Regions from separate parts of the Homo sapiens genome. Here all the other regions are linked to region 1. The links are contacts of gene promoters, found by promoter capture Hi-C in blood cells and fetal thymus (Javierre and others, 2016). All regions are on one chromosome and are shown on one strand. Each heading gives the region's core, a stretch centred on a gene start or on the middle of the fragment in contact. The rest is flanking DNA. Distances are from core to core; before and after follow the strand shown. Region 1 holds the start of FNIP1 (folliculin interacting protein 1). Region 2 has its middle 19 kb from the start of CSF2. Region 3 overlaps RAPGEF6 (Rap guanine nucleotide exchange factor 6).

Region 1 (4,466 bases), core at 126-2,625:
AGTGCTGGGATAACAGGCGTGAGCCACAGCGCCCGGCCACACCTGGCTAATTAAAATTTTTTTTTTTTTTTTTTTTTTGTAGAGACAGGGTCTTACTGTTGCCCAAGCTGGTTTCGAACTACAGAGCTAAAGCGATCTGCCTGCCTCGGCCTTGCAGTGTTGCGATTACAGACGTGAGCTACCACGCCTGCCCAAAGTATTTTTATCCAGCCTTCCAACCATATACAAGTTATTTCCTAAATTTCTCTGAGGATTACATCCCATTGTACGAGCTTCCTCATCCTGGAGGGGGAGTGAGTGAATGGATGGGGTTGCTGAAAATTTATAAGATTAGTTTGATACAAACTCTGATATATTTTGGTTCCATGGGTTAAATAAGACTGTGAGGTCACATGTGAGCAATGTTTTTCTTTTTTTAGAAAGCGTTTCTTCCCTGTAACTTGACTAAAATTCCACAGTTCCTCCCGTCTTCATACCTAAACATTAAGATAGATTTATTAAAAATCTAAATAATTAGCGTAAAGGGTTAGATATCTGTACATATATGTCTTTAGGCTTCCTGACTTCGTTGGTTTCACCTGATTTTGTTGGTTAACAAGGAAACAGCCTAACTCCTGAGCCTCCAATCGCTAGCTCTTCCAAGAGACTAATTCCCGGTGTCAGGGTTCTAGGCGCTAGTACAAACTGCCCGCAGTGCCTGCTCGAGGTCGTCTTTGCGGGGAGCCATGGCTGTGGCAGGGGTCCCGGCAGTTTCCTTCACCAGTCCCTGTGAGCCAGCCCCCGCGCTGTCCAGATCCCAGACCTCTCGCGGGCCGGCGCAGCCTTCTAAGGGCGGTCCTGGGGTCCTGGGCTCAAAGTCCAGCCTTGGCCGCGGCCCCACGGGTACGCTTGTGGGCCTTCCGTGCTCCAGGAGCCGCCAGACTCTGCCCGGCGCGGAATGGAGGTGTGAAGCCGCAGAAGCTAGGGAGGGGCTGACAAGGAAGAGTCGGTTGCCCGTGGTTCCCTACGCAACTCTGTGGGTGCGGGGAGTCGAAGCCTTCTGCACTCCAAGGCTCCTGGCATCGTCCCCGCGCCACCCCGGCGTACCCTCTGATGGTCGCTGACAGCTTCACAGGGGAAGATCGAGACTGACCCTTCTCCCGCTACACATCCCTAGCCACCTTCCAGTCCTGTCCTCTCGGCTCACGCCCCGCCCCTGCCACGTGACGGGACCCGCCAGTGAGCCTATGGGAGGCAGCTCCGCCCCACGCCCCCACCTTGCCCCTTGCTCCGCGCGCCGCCACGTGATGCGGCCCCCCTCCAGCCAATGAGTGCCGGCCTTGCCTCGCGCCCCGCCCCGCGCGCCGTGGCCGTTTGAAGTGACTAATTTCTGTCATATGACTGAGGCGCCCATGGGGGTGGCGGGGCGGCTGTAGGAGCAGGGGCCTAGCAAGCGCCCAGCGGAGCGACCCCTGCCTGGCCGTGGCTAGCATGGCCCCTACGCTGTTCCAGAAGCTCTTCAGCAAGAGGACCGGGCTGGGCGCGCCCGGCCGCGACGCCCGGGACCCAGATTGCGGGTTCAGGTAGGGCGCTGTGGGGCGGGGGTCGCGGAGCCGATGGCCTTGTGGGCTCCGGGCTCCAGGGGTGTTGGGGCCTTCGGTGTTCCGACCCGAGCGGAAGCGCCGCGCCGAGAGCAGCATCTGGTCCTCGGTGGGGTGGAGCCGGCTGCGGGCTAGCGCCGAAGGGTTGGAGCGAGGTCCTACCTTTTATTTTACCCCACCCGCCTCGCCGTTGCCCCTTCCCCCTCCTCCCGTCGGTTTGTTTACGACCTGCCCCCAGCCACGCGCGACTCTGCTCCTCCGGACCTAGCACCGCGGCCTGAGACTTTGGGTCCACACGCCTTCCTGGCACCGAGTAGAGTTGGGCGCGGGCTGGATTGGACCTCAGCCGCCGTACTCCGGGCCGCGAAGTTCTCCCCTCCTCCCCGTGACCAGTTGTCCTCCGGGCGCTGCGTTCCAGCTCCGTTGGCGTTGTGGAGAGAGCGGCACGTTTGGCCAAGCTTCTGAGTTGAGAGAAGGCTGGAGGAGCGAGTAGGCAACGTGCCGTTCTTTCAGGTTTCTTGGACGCTAAAATTGGAGGTGTGCAGTAACCGGACCGAGCGACCTTAATGTTATCGAAGGAGAAATGTGAAACTTGAGTTTAGGGTTACTGCCGAAGGAAGACCAAATTGAATGAAATCTGGCCTTGGAATTGGCTGTAGATTCTTCCTCCTCGAATTGTTACTGAAAAGGAGTCTTAAAAATTGAAAATGTTAGTAGAGCATTTTGTAGTGTTACAGGCTTTGTTAATTTTTCATTGTAGTACCTGTTGCTGGCAGAGTAACTTTTCAGAATTGTAAGATTTGATATAAACCTGAATTCAAGGTAAAATTTAGTCGTTAAACTGCACCTGAGGAGATTATGTCCAAACAGCCTTTATACGTATTGCAGTGTGGAAACTTGCAAATATAACTAGGCTAAATGTCAAATGCCACACGTTTTAAACTTGGTAGGATAGCAAAGAGCCCAGTTGTACAACAATAGTAGAAACAAAAAAATAAAATAAAAATAAAAAAAGAGAATCTGTCAAATTTTGGAACAGGCGAAGTTGCCACACTGGTTTAAGAAATTTTGCTATTCTTAAAATTATTCACTCTCTCTTGCTAATGCAGGTCTCATCAGGAAAAATTCAGTAAATGCATATGGAATTGAAGAGGTTTTTCTACGTATCTGTCTTTTCCCCTGAAAAATAAATGTGTCATGCTCATCTGTCTCTCTTTAAACATTTCTTTAGTGTTTTTCCTTTGAAAAATGAAAGTGCAGGTTAGATAATACTACATTGAGCCATCTAGTAACTCAAGCGACAATAGGAAACAGGTTCCGATAGGATATTTAAAAGGTGGCATTTGAATAGACAACTGCTTTCTATTTCTGGACAAAGATTGACTTTGGGTACGTAGGTTTACAAGGCTCTCAAGTCACTCATATGAAAAAACATTTTCACGTCTGGTTTTCAAAAATGTAAAGTCTACTACATAGTTGCGTAATACTATTTTACAGTTACCAAAGAACTTTCTCATCAGTTATCTTATTTGATGTTTCACAGCAATCTTACGAGATAGAGCAAGTAGCAGTGCAGATAACTATATACTTTTGCCAGTGGAAGTAAGAATTATCTGTAAGCCCAATAACTGCAGTACATTATGGAATCTCTCACTTTAAAAATAAAACTTGTGCATGTGAGAAATGAAAACTGATGAAACAGAATAGGCATATCTGAAGGAAAAAAAACCATTCTGGTTAATGTCACATAGCTAATAACTTACAGATCTAATCAACCCAGGGTTTTTTAAAAACTATTTCATTGAGCTATAATTTATACACAATAAAGTATAAATACATTTTAAGCATACATCGTATACAGTTGTGTACCCACCACCCCCATGAAGTTTTAGAACACTTCCATCACCCAAAAAGTTCCCTCATGCTCTGTTGTAGCCTAACTCCTCCTCACCCGTGGCAGTCACTGATACTTTCTGTCATAGTCTTGTGTCTGTCTTGTTTGTTGCATTTATTAGTTCCTTTTTTTCTCACTCTGTCAACAGGCTGTAGTACAGTGGCGTGACCACGCTTAATACACTGTCAACCTCCTGGGCTCAAGGGATCCTCTCACCTTGGCCTCCCAAAGTTCTGGGCTTACAGGGATGAGCCACCACACCCAGCCAGTTCCTTCAATTTTATCACTGAATGGTATTCCATTGTATGGCTATACCATGATTTGTTTATTCAGCCACTAGTTGGAGGACATATTTTTTCCCCAGATTTGGGCTATTATGAATAATGCTGCTGTTAATGTTTGTGTATAAATCTTTATGTGGACATATATTTTCTTTTCTCTTGGATAGAAATCTAGGAGTGGGGTTGCAGAGTCATGTGCTAAATGTTGTGTTTAACTTTAAAAAAAAATTGTCAGACTTTTCCAAAATAGTTGTACCATTTTGTATTCTCAGTAGCAATGCATGAAGGTTACAGGTTCTTCACAATCTCTTCAATATTGATATTGTTATTTTTGTTCTTTTTTAATTAAAAATTTTTATTGTAAAAAAAATATGAAATTTACTTTTTTTTTTTTTTTTTTTTTTTTTAGATGGAGTCTCACTTGTTGCTCAGGCTAGAGTGCCATGATACAATCAAGGCTCATTGCAGCCTTGACCTCCTGGGCTCTAGTAATCCTCTCACCTCAGCCTCCTGAGTAGGCTCCTAAGTATCCTCCCACCTTGGCCTCCCAAAGTGCTGTAATTACAGGCATGAGCCACCATGCCTGGCCAAAATTTACTGTCTTAATCGTTTTTTTATTCTTTTGATTATAGCCATTCTAGTGGTATCTTGTGGTTTTAATTTGCATTTCCCGAAGATCATATTCAGCATCTTTTTATATAACCCAGGTTT
Region 2 (4,550 bases), core at 971-3,470, 300 kb before region 1:
TCATTTCAGTGACTCTTCAGGCTTCAGCTCCCCATTCCTGCTGGGGTCATCTCCTAGGATAGTGAGGATGTCTGTGGACACAAACTAAGGAAGCCAGAAAACCGCTGTCCTGACTCAGTGTCTTGCCCCACCCTGGCCTCTGGCCCAGATTCTGGAGGCCTTAGTCAGGGGGTGGGGGTCTGTTTGCCCAGAGCTGGGGTTTCCCTATAGATCCTGTGGGACAGAACAAGTGCAGCCCACTGGAAAGCCCTTGAAACAGTTGGATGTCACCCTGTCTGAGAGGAGCTTAAAGCTGCCAGAACGGACTGGTGGACTGGTTGGATCCGCCCCCTTGGGAAAATCCAGGCATGAGCTGTCACCTGGACCTGAGTACAGTTCCTGTCCATCCTGCACTAGCGAGGCCATGGGGAATGCTCAGAAGGGGAGGCGTCGCGTGAAACCTGCTTAATATACAGCCTGTCCAAAGGTCCCAGCCCCCAGCCACCTGAACTGCCAGGACTGTTCCATTTCCCTATCCTCCACAGGCCTGCCCCGAGGCCCCTGCCAACAAATGTCACTTCCCCACACCAACCTGCTTCCTCCAGGATTGGTATTTTCTGACTTCTATGTTTTTCATGGCTTCTTTGATGCCACCGCTCCTGTTTCTCTTTCTCCTCTGTGACCAGTTCTTACAAGCCTCTTACACAGCTGCCTCCTCCTCTGCCCATCTTCTAGGTTTCCAAGTTCCTTGGGGCTTGGTACTTCTCTCTTTGGCTACCCTACAGGTCTCAAACTTGCGGTCTAAAGGCCAAATCAAGGTCTGCACCCTCCAACAAGGGTCCCTACCTTTTCTTAACCTGCCACCCTACAAACAACACTTCAGACTAGTGGTGTTCCCAGACATGTTTCTGCATGCCCCTCTTTGGGGAGAAACTCCACGATTATGGAGCCATCCTAAATGCGAGCTACTAGGTCCAGATTTCTTTGATCTAGCTTCAGCCTATCCCCACCACACCTCTTACCAGATCACCTGGCCTGGTTGAAGGGCTTTCTTTAAGGCATCCCATCACAAGCATGTTTTTCTCTGCCCCTTTGCCACCTGGCAAACGACTCCTCCTCTTTTCATAGACTGACCAAGAAACTATAGCCGCCCCAACCCAGATGATACTGATTCTGCTCACTACTGCTAGGGACAAAAGCTGCCTGACAGGTGTCTCTGATACCTGGTGGCTGAGATACAGTGAGTACTCAATATTAGATGGGGAGAGGGACCCTGTAGCCATTTCTCCTGAGGAGTTGAGTACCTGAGAATGGCAGAGTGAGGCTCTTCCCTGGGCTTATGTGTCACAATAGGAAAGCAACAGAATCCCAGTTGCCAGGGTTGTGGGGGGAAGCGTGGTTTGTAAGCATCAGGCTCTGACCCATCTGCCCAGGGACAAGATTTGTACAGGCTTTTTAAGGTGGTCTTGTGGATGCTGTGATACACAGCTCAGACCCCCCCGCCCCATCCCCTTTATGAATGAAAGATTTATTTCACCAGCTGGTGGGAGAGCTGCCAGAAGACAGCCCCAGCTGTCAGCCCTATTTTGGACTACTGCTAAAAAATAATTGCCTTGTGTAAGGTCACACCTACTTCTGTAGGGAGCCCACGTCTACCAACTGATAAATATGAAGGTATAAAGGCTTGGCTCCCTCTCCTTCTTGGGAAAACTCTGAAGGATCATCACAGATGAGCACTCCTGGTCTCAGCTGGAACCTCGGCTGGAATTGCATAGTAGCTCCACTTCTCCTTTTGCCTAGTCCTGTTTCAGTCCTCATTTCCACTGATGTTGACCCCAAGATCTTTTCCTAATAAAGGTCCTACATGCTCATATCCTACTCAGTCTGTTTCCTATAGAACCTAATCTATGGCATCTGGCTTTAGGAGTGACAGAAAAAAAATGAGATGCTAAGATATGATTTTGGAGCTGGATCATCCACTGTTGGCTGCCAATGAGGACTCCCATCACAGGTGGCAGGTGAAGCAGACAGCTTTTGGCCCATGGTAATAATTGTTAAAACTTTTACCTATGTTGGAAGAGAATGCATTAGATGGTGCAGTGCCTCAGGTGTTTGAGAAATATGGGGGAATTAGCCACTGCAAGGACAATGGAATTGCTAAGCTTGACTAACTTTCAGTAAAAGAAAATGGAGAGCTTAGAGTGATTAATTGGCAATGAAAACATAAGCATGAAAGCCGTAGGCCTCTTTGGTGCATCTATAGAAAAGAAGAAAAAGCAGAGAATCAGACCCAGACTTCTGTCAAAGTAGTTAAGCTTCAAAGAAGGTTATATTCCCAACCAAGGCAGGTCTTCTATGCCAAGGGCAGAGCCCTGGTTGGGGAAGAATGAGACCCTGACACGTGGGATGAGGACCTCTGTTGCACCTGAATATCTTGAATCCTCAGATTTCACTAAACACTCTGGACCTGCAGAAGTGACCTACTCATCTCTGTTAAAAGCTAGAACTTGCTTCTTACTTTAAAAAGAAAATGCGGAGGCTTCTGTCCTGCAAGACATGCTCTCATTCCATGTTACCTCTTTGTGCTAGGCCAATAACTAGGGTTAAGTCAAAACCTAACCTGGCCAGACATGCTGAACTTGCTAGTGTAGAAAAGGACTATACCTCAAAGGAAATTCTGGTCATATCCAGAGAGTACTAGCAGGAGCTTGGAGAGTATGCACAGGACTGGATTCTGGACCAAGGGGGTGGAACAGAAATTTGAACAAAAGAGTTTATGGATATGGGAACATTCTTCCAGGATAAAGTATTTAAAACTGTGGCAAGGCCCCAAGAGATGGTGCAAATACATCGTTTGGATGGCTCCTAGAAGCATGGAAAGAGGATGGCCCATATTAAGTGAGGGTAGCCAGAATGGCTATGGCAGACTATGAAGGACGTGGGTGTGCAGGAATAAATATACTAAGCAAATTCAGAATACTCGCCTGAGGGCCAAGAAGATACCAAAACAAGAAATGTATTGGAAAGAAGGGCACCAGTATCACCAAGAACTAAAATGGTGGCTAAAATAGGCCAGCATTGATAGGAAATGTCACAGAACTGGGCTCACTGATAGCAGTAGGGGTGATAGGACTCTGAGATAATAGAGGCCAAGTCATAGCACTTGGCCCAGTTGTCTGGGTGGCAAGATTGGAATGGCTGTTAAGAGGGCCTGGCTCCCGGGGAGTTATGGACATGGTTAATAAAACATAGCATCTGGAGGGTCACAATAGATGGCCAGCCAACAGTGCTGCGGGTTATTCTGTGCAAGAAAAAGAAATCAATCATGGATAATGAGTCCAGTCACCCCAATAAAAAGTAACCTGCCGAGTTTCCAGATCTGAACCAGTTTTCAGACTTAGAACCTACTGATTGAAGAAGATGCCAGATCTCCCAGAAGGAAGAGTCCCACACCACCACAGCAAGTGTGCATGATAATGATTTCCCCAGCCCTTTCCCAGGGGGACCTGTGGGCACTTAACTTGGATAGCTACATACTAGGAAAGAGAATATCCTAACATGTGAAAGACTATTGAACCCGGGATTAGAATTGACATTGTTACCTAGGTACCTGAAGTGGCACCAAAATCCTCTCATTAGAATGAGGGGTATATGTGGGCCAGGTGATAGATTCCTGGCCTGAGTTCTGCTAATAGCAGGTCCTCTGGGTCCACAGACCCACAGTGATATAATCAGATCAACACACTTGATAATTAGCACAGCCCCTACATTGGGTCCTTGGCCTGCATGGTGAGAGTGATCATAGTGAAGAAAGCCAAGTGGAAGCCTTCAAAACCTTCCCATTCCAGGCAAAATAGTAAATCAAGAACAATATCACATTCCAGGGTTAATGGCAGAAATTATTGCCACCATTATAGACCTAAAAGGGAGTCCGTCATATCTTCATTTAATTTACCAGCAAAACCCAGTTAAATCCTGAAAGATGACAGCAGGCTACTACCAATTCAACAGTAGCCCCATTTGCAGCCACTGTGCTTGCCAAATGTGTCTTCACTACAACAGATTAACATGGGCTCAGGCATACAGTGTGTAGCTGCTGATTTGGTGAATCCATTCTTTTCCACCCCTGTTAGAAATTGTTTGCATTCACTTGGGACAAACAACAGTTCAAATTTCCAAGGCAAAGTTAACTCTCCTGCCCTCTGTCATAACATAGTTCCAAGAAGTCTGAACCACTTGGGCATCCTGCAGAACATCACACTGGTCTACTCTATTGATAATATTATGCCAGTCAGACAAGATTGATGGCCATGGCAAGACACATGCACTCCAGAAGATAAACCCTATGAATATTCACAGCCTGCCACATCAGTGAAGTTTTTAGGAATCCAGTAGTCTGGAGCGTGCAGAAAATTCCCACCAAAGTATAGGACAAATCACTATGTCTTGTACTTCCCACCATGAAGAAGGAAGCGGAATGTTTGGCAGGCCTCTTAGGGTTATGGATGCAACCTATATGGATGAAACCTATTACACACTTGGGAATATTATTCTGAACCATATACCTGGCA
Region 3 (4,249 bases), core at 743-3,242, 300 kb after region 1:
TGCTGCCTCTTTTATGTTTCCACAGGTGACACGGATTGTATTATTATGGGTAAATAATCATTTTAATGATTTTGAAGGTGACCCTGCTATGACTCGATTTCTAGAGGAATTTGAAAAAAATCTGGAAGATACAGTAAGGCTCAAAATAATTTCTATTCTTCAGAGTGTAGTGGTCCCCCCTCAACACTAGCAAACTCAGAACAGCAATAGCTTTCATTCTTTCCTGTGTCTTAAATGTCCATTCTTAGAACTTCCGAATCTGTATTCTAGACTTTTGTTCATTTATTCTCTGCCACCTCAATTAAAACAACATTTACACTCCTTCCTGACTCTTCCATTTATTTTTTATTTATATTTATTTATTTATTTATTGTATTTATTTGTTTTTTTTTTGAGACGGAGTCTCGCTGTCGCCCAGGCTGGAGTGCAGTGGTGCAATCTTGGCTCACTGCGACCTCCGCTTTCCAGGTTCAAGCAATTCTCTCCTACCTCAACCTCCTGAGTAGATGGGACTTCAGACGCGCACCACCACGCCCAGCTAGGTTTTGTATTTTTAGCAGAGACAGGGTTTCACCAGATTGCCCAGGCTGGTCTCAAACTCCTGACCTCGTGATCCGCCCGCCTCGGCCTTCCAGAGTGCTGAGATTACAGGCGTCTGAGCCACGGCGCCTGGCCCAAATCTTCCATTTCTGTATTGACATTCTTATCTCTTAGTTACTCAGGCTTATAAACCTGGTGTTATATGTGTACCCTCAGTCTCTTTTTCTTGAATTCCCTGGCCAGGATTTCCAGTCAGTTGCTAAAGTCACCTAGGTCACTGATTTAGTCATACACATGTATGTTCACATATTTTCTTATGGTCTCTCTCAGCCATTTCTTTTTTACTCCCTAGTTTAGGACTTAATATATCTGATCTATTATAATCTGCTCACTGACCCTAGTTCTAGTTTCTCTTCTAGTTCATTCTGTGTGGCCAAAAGATTGCTTTTAAAACACACATGTGATGACTATTATTTTCTTTGTCAGTAATCTATACTTCCTACCAAAGCAGTTCCTCACCCATATATTCAGGTCCCTTGCCTACCTTTTTGCCCTTTTTCCTGTGTACCCTAGATTATAGCCAAATCAGACTATTTTATTTTCCAGTTCTGCATCCAGACCATGCTAGAATTTTCTTTTCCTCACCTATTGAAACTCTGTTTCACTATCAGTGCATATCCTAAATATCAAATCTATATTGACTTTCTAGGTTTCCTTTCTATATAGGATTCATCTGTTCTAAATGTACAGCACCTAAGATAATTCCCTCCAAGTCCACAGTAGCTGTTCGTGAATTCATTTTAAACTCCCTGTCAGATATAAAACTTTGAGCTGTGACTTGGTTGCCTCCTTCAAGCAACTTGAAATTTTAGGAAATAAGTAGTAATGCAGCATAGTGTTTTAGGAGTACAGCTCAAGCTCCACCATTTGCTAGATTTGTAAACTCAGACATTGCCTGATCTTATGCCTTAGTTGTGTTATTTGTAAAGATAGTAGTTCCTAGTTCATTGAGATTGTTGTAAGGATTATAATGAGCTGAGAGGCATAACAGTCTGTACACAAAACCTGTGACATAGCAAATGCTCAAGAGCTGTAATTAATTACTTACAGAGCATAAGTGGATTGAGTTGAATGAAGTGGGAAAAATTGGCAAATTTGGTCCCTTTCATTACCCCTTGGTTCCTATTGACTTCTCGGCAGCACATGTGCTCTATACAAAATGGGGAGAGTGAACAACACTGGGAACTTGATTAAAAGGTTATAGAGGTACTCCACTATCATTTGAGTCATCCTGTGTTGGCTTTGTAAATATTCAAGGGACATCAGAATGTGGGAAAAAAAGTCATGGGATTTTTTTTTCCAGTAATCAGTTAGCCATCAGGTATTCATTGCATTCTACTTTATACTCAAAGACATCAATGTAGGATCAGAACAGATGTAAGACTTGGTGTCTGCTTTAAAAAAAAAAAACTTTAGCTTTTTGTTATGGACATGAGATTTGCACATATTAACACTATTTGAGATAATTGAAACTGGAATTAGAACTGGTAGACTATTACTGAGTTTAAGGAAGAGCTAAAATAATACAAGAAGGAAGTCTTTTCTGGACGAGATGAAAACTTGAATGTTTCTTTGAACATTGGACAATATTTAAAAAGGTGGTTCAAGTTGTTCAAGGTTTTGAATAAAGGTTTTAAAAGATTCTGGTTTTATATAACAGCCAGGAGATAAGCAAGGTGGGAGTAGAGTGTGTATTAGGAAAAGTTTAAGAAATGATAAGTAGGTCGGGCGCGGTGGCTCATGCCTGTAATCCCAGCACTTTGGGAGGCCGAGACAGGCGGATCACGAGGTCAAGAGATCAAGACCATCGTGGCTAACATGGTGAAACCCTGTCTCTACCAAAAATACAAAAAATTAGCCGGGCATGGTGGCGGGCGCCTGTAGTCCCAGCTACTCGGGAGGCTGAGGCAGGAGAATGGCATGAACCCGGGAGGTGGAGCCTGCAGTGAGTCGAGATCGCGCCACTGTGCTCCAGCCTGGGCGACAGAGCGAGGCTCCGTCTCAAAAAAATAAATAAATAAATAAATAAATAAATAAATAAATGATAGGTAATTTTTTGTCATGTCTCTGTAAATGAGACATCACTTGGAAATCTACCTATGATAATTTAAAAGTCTTATAATCATATTTAGAAATCTTGTTGAGAGTGCTTTGGCGTGGGAGTGCCCCCTTCTTCAATTTTGTTTACCTCAGCTTATACATGTATATTTATAACTCTAATTCTAATAATTTTCGTTGACTTTTTAAAAACCTATAGGAATAGATACATTTATATACATTTATCCTTTTCTGCTTAACAGAAGATGAATGGTCATCTCCGGTTATTGAATATTGCCTGTGCTGCAAAGGCTAAGTGGAGACAGGTTGTGCTGCAAAAGGCTTCCCGCGAGTCCCCTCTACAATTCAGCCTTAATGGAGGGAGTGAGAAGGGATTTGGTATTTTTGTTGAAGGAGTAGAACCTGGTAGCAAAGCTGCTGATTCAGGACTGAAACGTGGTGATCAGGTAAGGAAATAACCAACCACTTATATTCAAGCCTTCTTAAAAGTATTATGCCTGCTGCTTTTGTTCTCATCTTCCAGAAAGCATGATCAGTTTAAGGAAATATTTTTCTGAGCCTTTTTTTAGAGGTAGTATCTGCATATGGTTTATTTTTAAAAGTATTTGTCATATATTTATTACTTTTAATGGAAAATTTGGTGTAGTATGGCCAGAAATAACATGGTCTACTGAGCTCTATCAACATGACCTCCTTTGAATGGGCCTGCCTATCCTTCATGGATTAGGAAACTGTATAAGCTGGCAACTTGAGAATACTCCAGAACGATCAATATATGAATTAGCACCCTTGCAGGTTTTGAAGAAGACAGCACTTCTACCTCATAGTACTCTCAAATGTAAGTGGCTGCAGATTACTGAAGGTTATGGTAATCATTAAATTATGTTCATATGGTAACATAACTATATCCATAAGCAAAGTGAGCCAAATGGGGGACTAGGAAAAAAGACACTCTTAGGAATTTGATGGTGATTTTTATTTTTTGGTATAGGCATTAGGTAAGTATAGAGCAGCCTATTCCAAATGTGATCTGCTGGCAACTTTGTTACATAAAAAATGTAATTCTCAGGCTTCTCTCAATCCTGTTAGTCATATTGCCCACATTCTTAAGCAATGATGTCTGAACATCTGTATTTTTAACAAAGCTCTCTAGATCAGTGGTCCCCAACCTTTTTGGCACCAGGGACCAGTTTTATGGAAGACAGTTTTTCCACGGACCAGGGAGTTGGGGCTGGGGTGATGGAGATGGTTTTTGGATGAAACTGATCCACCTCAGGTCATCAGGCATTCAGACATTAAATTTTCATAAGGAGTGCCCTAGATCCCTTGCATTTGCAGTTCTCAACAGGGTTCACACTCCTATGAGAATCTAATGTCACTGCTGATTTAACAGGAGGTGGAGGTCAGGCGGTAATGCTCACTGGCCCACTGCTCACCTCCTGCTGTGTGGCCCAGTTCCTAACAGGCCATGGGTCTGTGTCCTGGTGGTTGGGGACCCCTGCTCTAGATGATTCTCATGTACTTCAAAGGGTGGTTTCCCAAATCTGCCTGATCATCAGAATCATTTAGGAAACTTGCTTTCTCCCCATTT

What was found. The method cuts DNA at HindIII sites, captures the fragments that hold promoters and counts their contacts. A CHiCAGO score of 5 or more calls a contact.
Region 2: a fragment that was not itself captured here is called in contact with the fragment with the promoter of FNIP1 in region 1 in 1 of 17 cell types (naive CD8 T cells); the score reaches 5.5 in naive CD8 T cells.
Region 3: a contact is called between a fragment that was not itself captured here and the fragment with the promoter of FNIP1 in region 1, in 1 of 17 cell types (neutrophils). The highest score is 5.1, in neutrophils.

What each region holds. Positions count from the first base shown.
Region 1 is chr5:131,793,926-131,798,391 of GRCh38, reverse strand. FNIP1 (folliculin interacting protein 1) reads left to right here and starts at 1,375. Exons shown (of 18, transcript NM_133372.3): 1 at 1,375-1,562. The coding sequence starts at 1,471. RefSeq lists silencers at 1,172-1,431, 1,482-1,761. The HindIII fragment of the contact is 14,343 bases long and covers 1-2,040 here.
Region 2 is chr5:132,090,419-132,094,968 of GRCh38, reverse strand. No RefSeq gene overlaps it. Among named protein-coding and RNA genes, the nearest start is that of CSF2, 19 kb to the right of the region's middle. RefSeq lists an enhancer at 1-821. The HindIII fragment of the contact is 153 bases long and covers 2,144-2,296 here.
Region 3 is chr5:131,491,437-131,495,685 of GRCh38, reverse strand. RAPGEF6 (Rap guanine nucleotide exchange factor 6) reads left to right here. Exons shown (of 28, transcript NM_016340.6): 13 at 26-133; 14 at 2,901-3,104. Among named protein-coding and RNA genes, the nearest start is that of RAPGEF6, 140 kb to the left of the region's middle. The HindIII fragment of the contact is 5,618 bases long and covers 1-4,249 here.